Linked DNA regions of Homo sapiens: region 1 is linked to region 2. Evidence: promoter capture Hi-C in 16 types of primary human blood cells and fetal thymus (Javierre and others, 2016). All regions are on one chromosome and are shown on one strand. The core of a region is centred on a gene start or on the middle of the fragment in contact, and the rest is flanking DNA. Distances in the headings are between cores, read along the strand shown. Region 1 overlaps TUT7 (terminal uridylyl transferase 7). Region 2 holds the start of HNRNPK-AS1 (HNRNPK antisense RNA 1).

Evidence for each region. Contacts are between HindIII fragments. The CHiCAGO score rates a contact against its expected background, and 5 or more counts as called.
Region 1: a contact is called between a fragment that was not itself captured here and the fragment with the promoter of HNRNPK-AS1 in region 2, in 1 of 17 cell types (total CD8 T cells). The highest score is 5.3, in total CD8 T cells.

Annotation. Positions count from the first base shown.
Region 1 is chr9:86,311,249-86,315,666 of GRCh38, reverse strand. All of the region lies in intron 17 of TUT7 (terminal uridylyl transferase 7), which reads left to right. Among named protein-coding and RNA genes, the nearest start is that of ISCA1, 31 kb to the right of the region's middle. RefSeq lists an enhancer at 2,490-3,327. The HindIII fragment of the contact is 3,774 bases long and covers 577-4,350 here.
Region 2 is chr9:83,970,845-83,973,544 of GRCh38, reverse strand. It overlaps HNRNPK-AS1 (HNRNPK antisense RNA 1), which reads right to left and starts at 1,450. Exons shown (of 2, transcript NR_186535.1): 1 at 1,268-1,450. It overlaps HNRNPK (heterogeneous nuclear ribonucleoprotein K), which reads left to right. Exons shown (of 17, transcript NM_031263.4): 9 at 146-259; 10 at 573-701; 11 at 1,356-1,663; 12 at 1,819-1,873; 13 at 2,189-2,272; 14 at 2,633-2,648. The HindIII fragment of the contact is 2,844 bases long and covers 596-2,700 here.

The DNA of each region.
Region 1 (4,418 bases), core at 1,214-3,713, 2.3 Mb before region 2:
TTTTGTTTTGTTTTGTTTTGTTTTGAAGGTCGTGCAAAGAAACTGAAGTACTAAGTTAGCGTGACTATTAATTTTTTAGTACTGAGCTAGATTTTAACTTTGTGTTTTGAAATAATTTAATTTCACATTTAAAGGAAAGCAGCAAAAGTTGCATAAAGAGTTCCACATATAACTTTTATTCAGATCCACCAATTAACATTTTCCATATTTGATTCATCATTCCATCTTTTGCTTGCTCTCAATTTCTTCCTGTACCATTTGAGATTAAGCTATAGACATTATGTCCTTTCCCCTAAATACCTCAGTATATATTTCCTAAGAAGGAACGATGTTAAAAACAGATCATTTTTAGATTAGAAATGACTTAGGCACACAGATGATTTATAATAATAATGGAATGCAGATTGCCTGGAACAAGAATTTCGTAACAGCTAGAGGGCTGTGTTTAAAACTTCATATCTTTAAAACAGTCTCCCCAGGTATTTTATTGGGTGCCTCCTATGTGCACAGCACTGTGTTGGGCACTTAGGGATGGTGGAAAAGTAAAAAAATCTGTATGTTTTTTTTGTGAAAGCTTCCATATCTTAAGAGGTAAGGTAATCTTCCAAACTATGTAACAATGTAAGGTAATATTCAATTAAATAACTTCTAAGAAGAGAGAATGTGGGAAAGAGTTGCACAGGGGAGGTTGATGGAAGAGATGGAGGTTGCTATGATCTCAGATGATGGTGAACACGATTTGAAAAGGATGGGAAAAGAAATCATTTCTAAGTGCATAGATGTGAATGTGAGACTGTGGGATATTTTGGAGAGCAGTGAGAAGATTGGTACATTTGGAGATTTTCAAATGGGAAATACTAGGAGATAAGATGAAGTCTATAGATATTTGGAAGCACTGAAGTTTCTTCAGGAGGGAAAGGACCCAATAAAAGCATAACATAAGGTTTTTAGGCAGCTGGTGTGGTATTTTAGGGAAGGTATAATGTAGACAACAGGGCAGCAGGACCTCAGCCAGGGTGCCACTGGTGCTAACAGGAAAAAGATATGAGAGATTCCAAGTGGGAAAATTTCCTAGATTTGGTACCTGCAAGTAGGAAGTAAGGATTGAGGTCACTATCTGGGTTATTTGAGAACCAGGAATGTTTGCAGAGAACACCTGTGTGAAAGTGTTTAGTTTGCCATGAGCATATAATCTCCAAGACTTAACATTCCAGAAAACAATTAGAAATATGGGGTTGCCAGTCAGAATTGAAGATGAAAATAAAACAGTTTTTTTGCATTGAAAGCCTTGAAGAAAAAGAGAGAGATTGAGAGAAAGAGACTAGACAGAAATTAAGAAAAGAGACTGAAAAGGAACTGGGAAGATATGCTGTGAATAAATCCGAGACTTTGAAGTGTGGTAATGATCAACAGTGTCAAATTCCAGAATGGGAAGGATGTGAAGAAAAGGGCCTCTGTCTAATTTAGAGGCGAGATAGCAAAGTACTAGGTGGAGGTTCTGGAATCAGACTCTGATTTTAAATTCTGTCTCCCCCTTGCTGGCTGTGCAATCCCAAAAAGTCACTCAGCTTCATAACAAGCACTCAGTTCCTCATCTCTAAAGTGGAAATAACAATTCTATGGCATTTAAGAAAGATAATACGTAAAGTGCAAAGCCTAGCATATTCTAAGTATTCAGTAAAGTGAGCTTCCTTGCCCCCTTTCCCCATCAGATTAAGTTTCATTTCCTCTGTCTGCCACACAGATTTTTTCCTGAAATGTCTTCTACCTACTTATTTTCTCCTGTGTTCTATGATGTGATCACTATGTATCTGCTTTTTAGGAACCACCACTTAGCTCTCTCAGAAGAAACTCAAACTCTGACATCTCAGAATGAGCTTATCTTTCACTTTACCGCTTCCCTTCTGCAGGAACCAACTCCATTAATCTGCCCTTCCTTGTGAATCCTTTTTCATGGTTGTTGATATTGGCATCCTTGGAATCAATAAAACGGGTGAAATGATAATTAGCCTGACCCACACTAGGTTCAGTATAAGTTGGGAGTCAATCTTACCTAGATTTGAATTCCGGCTCCACAATTTACCAGCTGCATATTCCTAAGCTAGTGAATCTTTCTGGGTCTCTGTTTCCTCATCTGTAAGATGAGGGTGATAAACCTAAGGAGGTAATGTTTGTAAAGGACTCTTCACATATCCCTATCACACATTAGGTGCTCAGGAAGTGGTAACTCTTACTCTGAAAGCCCTGATCCTCTCTTACTACCCCTAGCTTCCCATCCAGTTACAGATGCTCTCAAACATGCCTTGCTTCTTCTGTGTATTCCCATGCCACCATGAAAGTTCACACCCAGTTGTTTTTCATAAGTGGTCACCCTGCCTCTGTTCCTGGTGCCTCCAGTCTGTCCACTGCCAGGGTTATTGTCTAACTAGATGTGGTCAGTGATTCCTCCCAACTTAGACCAGTTCATTGGCTCCTCTTTGATTCTAAGGATAATTCTTTTTATTTATTTATTTATTTATTTATTTATTTATTTATTTATTATTGATCATTCTTGGGTGTTTCTCGCAGAGGGGGATTTGGCAGGGTCACAGGACAATAGTGGAGCAGCATAATAAACTTGTTTATCTGGTCAGCAGATAAACAAGTGAACAAAGGTCTCTGGTTTTCCTAGGCAGAGGACCCTGCGGCCTTCTGCAGTGTTTGTGTCCCTGGGTACTTGAGATTAGGGAGTGGTGATGACTCTTAACGAGCATGCTGCCTTCAAGCATCTGTTTAACAAAGCACATCTTGCACCGCCCTTAATCCATTCAACCCTGAGTGGATACAGCAGGTTTCAGAGAGCACAGGGTTGGGGGTAAGGTCACAGATCAACAGGATCCCAAGGCAGAAGAATTTTTCTTAGTACAGAACAAAATGAAAAGTCTCCCATGTCTACCTCTTTCTACACAGACACGGCAACCATCCGATTTCTCAATCTTTTCCCCACCTTTCCCCGCTTTCTATTCCACAAAACCGCCATTGTCATCATGGCCTGTTCTCAATGAGCTGTTGGGTACACCTCCCAGATGGGATGGTGGCCGGGCAGAGGGGCTCCTCACTTCCCAGTAGGGGCGGCCGGGCAGAGGCGCCCCTCACCTCCCAGACGGGGCAGCTGGCCGGGCGGGGGACTGACCCCCCCACCTCCCTCCCGGATGGGGTGGCTGCCGGGTGGAGACGCTCCTCACTTCCCAGACGGGGTGGCTGCCGGGCGGAGGGGCTCCTCACTTCTCAGACGGGGCGGCTGCTGGGCTGAGGGGCTCCTCACTTCTCAGACTGGGCGGTTGCCAGGCAGAGGGTCTCCTCACTTCTCAGATGGGGCGGCCGGGCAGAGACGCTCCTCACATCCCGGACGGGGCGGCAGAGCAGAGGCGCTCCCCACATCTCAGACGATGGGTGGCCGGGCAGAGACGCTCCTCACTTCCTAGATGGGATGGCGGCCGGGAAGAGGCGCTCCTCACTTCCTAGATGGGATGGTGGCCGGGCAGAGACGCTCCTCACTTTCCAGACTGGGCAGCCAGGCAGAGGGGCTCCTCACATCCCAGACGATGGGCGGCCAGGCACAGATGCTCCTCACTTCCCAGACGGGGTGGCGGCCGGGCAGAGGCTGCAATCTCAGCACTTTGGGAGGCCAAGGCAGGCGGCTGGGAGGTGGAGGTTGTAGCGGGCCGAGATCACGCCACTGCACTCCAGCCTGGGCACCATTGAGCACTGAGTGAACGAGACTCCGTCTGCAATCCCGGCACCTCCGGAGGCCAAGGCTGGCGGATCACTCGTGGTTAGGAGCTGGAGACCAGCCCGGCCAACACAGCGAAACCCCGTCTCCACCAAAAAAATACGAAAACCAGTCAGGCGTGGCGGCGCGCACCTGCAATCGCAGGCACTCGGCAGGCTGAGGCAGGAGAATCAGGCAGGGAGGTTGCAGTGAGCCGAGATGGCAGCGGTACAGTCCAGCTTCGGCTCGGCATCAGAGGGAGACCGGCATCAGAGGGAGACCGTGGAAAGAGAGGGAGAGGGAGACCGTGGGGAGAGGGGAGAGGGAAGAGGGGAGAGGGAGAGGGAGAGGACTAAGGATAATTCTTAGCAAAATGTGTATGTTCTGTAGTTGGACCTTTCCCAGTTTCTCCACCATCTCCTATGCCTCATATTCCATTCCCTCAAGTTCATTCGGCAACCTATGCAATTCTCTGGAACTTCCCTGAACGTACCATTCTATTTCAGGCATCTACACTTTTTGTGTACAGTTTGCCTTGCCTGGTAAATTTGCTCAACTGCCACTATTTTTGCTGGTTTTTCTCCCTCTTTTTCAAAGCTTAGCTCAGGCAATTTCCTCTCTCCTATTGAAGTTAATTCCTATTAACTTCATAACTTCTAGCTTTAAG
Region 2 (2,700 bases), core at 201-2,700:
AATAAGCACATAACTGGTAAAGTTATTGAAATATAAATTCAGGTTGCTCACTGCAACAGTATATTATTGTTATGCTTATAGCAGATAAGTGTGTATTGGGGAATTGTTGATTTGAGACTAAAATTTTATAATTCTCCCTCCACAGTACCAACACTATAAAGGAAGTGACTTTGACTGCGAGTTGAGGCTGTTGATTCATCAGAGTCTAGCAGGAGGAATTATTGGGGTCAAAGGTGCTAAAATCAAAGAACTTCGAGAGGTAAAAAAAAAAAAATTCTGCCGTATTCTTTGCTGGAAAGTAAATTTTCATATAGACTTGTTTCTGTGAGCTTCTCTCGCTTCCCCTCTCAGTTCCCTCCAAAGATTGCTTATCGCAAATGACAAAAAATGTCTGGCACTGCTAGACATGTTATTTTGTCAAAATTTTTATACCATTGCAAAGCCCTGTGATAATTAATGAAGTTTTTATATTGTGGGGGGTTAATTGTTGAATTCAAATGCAATTTTCACTGAACCTAGGAAAGCTAATTTTCTTCTAATTATTATTATTTTTTTTTATGATCTTACTACAGAACACTCAAACCACCATCAAGCTTTTCCAGGAATGCTGTCCTCATTCCACTGACAGAGTTGTTCTTATTGGAGGAAAACCCGATAGGGTTGTAGAGTGCATAAAGATCATCCTTGATCTTATATCTGAGGTACTTCAGAACACTTTTTGTTTACATTTGATTTTATGAAACAAAGTGATAACCTTCTGCAAAAGTAGCTTCAGAGCATTTAGTCTAATAGTCTTTATTTGCCCTTTCCCTAGCAATTTTCTATCACCTGGCTTCAGCCATCACTTTAATTTAAAAATGGTTTTGAAAAAGTGGAGAGTGGTAATTTGTTGGTGGTATTTCTATAGCCTTTGAGCCTTTGAATGAATTTCCTATAGTGTTGCTTGTGTCTTTGTAACTATGCTGCAGGGCTTCCTATCTCAGGTGCCTCAGTATGGATTACAGGCTTGCCAAGACTGATCTCTTCAGCCCTTGTTGTGAAATGTGCATTGTAGTTTGTCATGTGTAAAATGGGAGGGCTTTGTGGTTTCTTACGATCTAAGTGTAAGAGCAAGCTATTACTTCTCCCTGTATAGGCAATAGAACTCACTTTTGTTTAGCATTTGCCAAAAGTATTGGATTTCTTTGGAATCTTTACTTTGCTACTTTTAGCGTTGACATAATTCCTGTTTCTGTCTCTAGTACCTCCTGATGGGGGAATGACTTACATTTTGTTTGATGATGATGTTAGAAGGATTGGTATGAAGCAGGACTCTTTTTCTTCAGTCTGTAAGTTTGTTCCATCTCTGTTTTTAGTCTCCCATCAAAGGACGTGCACAGCCTTATGATCCCAATTTTTACGATGAAACCTATGATTATGGTGGTTTTACAATGATGTTTGATGACCGTCGCGGACGCCCAGTGGGATTTCCCATGCGGGGAAGAGGTGGTTTTGACAGAATGCCTCCTGGTCGGGGTGGGCGTCCCATGCCTCCATCTAGAAGAGATTATGATGATATGAGCCCTCGTCGAGGACCACCTCCCCCTCCTCCCGGACGAGGCGGCCGGGGTGGTAGCAGAGCTCGGAATCTTCCTCTTCCTCCACCACCACCACCTAGAGGGGGGTAAGTTGTTTTTTTTGTTGTTGTTGTTTTTTCTTCCCCCATCTATGAATTATTAACCTGCAAGAGGCTGCACTTAGTGGTAGACAAGGTAGACTTTGATTTGATATGTGTGGCATGTAAGCACGTTTAGATTACAACAAGTACTATGCTTGCAGAGACCTCATGGCCTATGACAGAAGAGGGAGACCTGGAGACCGTTACGACGGCATGGTAAGAACTTTGGTTTATTACCAGTGTGTTGGGTATGTGAGGGTTGTCACAATGTAGTTCACGTTTTGTTGAAGGTTATAGTGATTAAAAAGTTTTTCTTACAAGTAAATTTTGTTTGGATTACTAGTTAAATAATTCTGTTATTTGCTGCTGGAGGATTACGACTTTATTGAGCTTTGTTCCCCTCGATTACAAAATTGCTGCCTATATATGTACCCTCTTTTGTTTTAATGTAACATGCAAATTAGGCATATTAAAAACAGCTCTATAACAAAATACAATGCGGGTTCATGTTAATGTTTTTATCTCTAACAGGTTGGTTTCAGTGCTGATGAAACTTGGGACTCTGCAATAGATACATGGAGCCCATCAGAATGGCAGATGGCTTATGAACCACAGGTTGAGTATCATAGTTGTTCGTGTGTATATCAGTGATAATTTAAGATGCTTACCTGCTCTCCAGTAAGTTTTTTATTCCCCTGAGGATACTTACTGAAAATAGGATACAGGAGGACTTTGGTTTCCTGAAGAGGGATTTTATGAGATTAAAATACTTGAATAGTGAAGCTGGGTGCAGTGGTGCTCACTCATAATCCCAACTACAAAAGAGTCTGAGGCAGGAGGATCACTTGAGCCCGAGAGTTTGAGACCAGCCTGGGCAACATAGCAAGACTCCATTTTATTAAATGAATTTTTTTAAAGTACCGGTAGTAATTACAACGGCAAAGTAATTTTCTATTTTTTTCTTTCTGTTTTTAGGGTGGCTCCGGATATGGTAAGTTCTCTCCTTTGTGAAGTCAAACATTAATTTCATACTTTTTAAATGA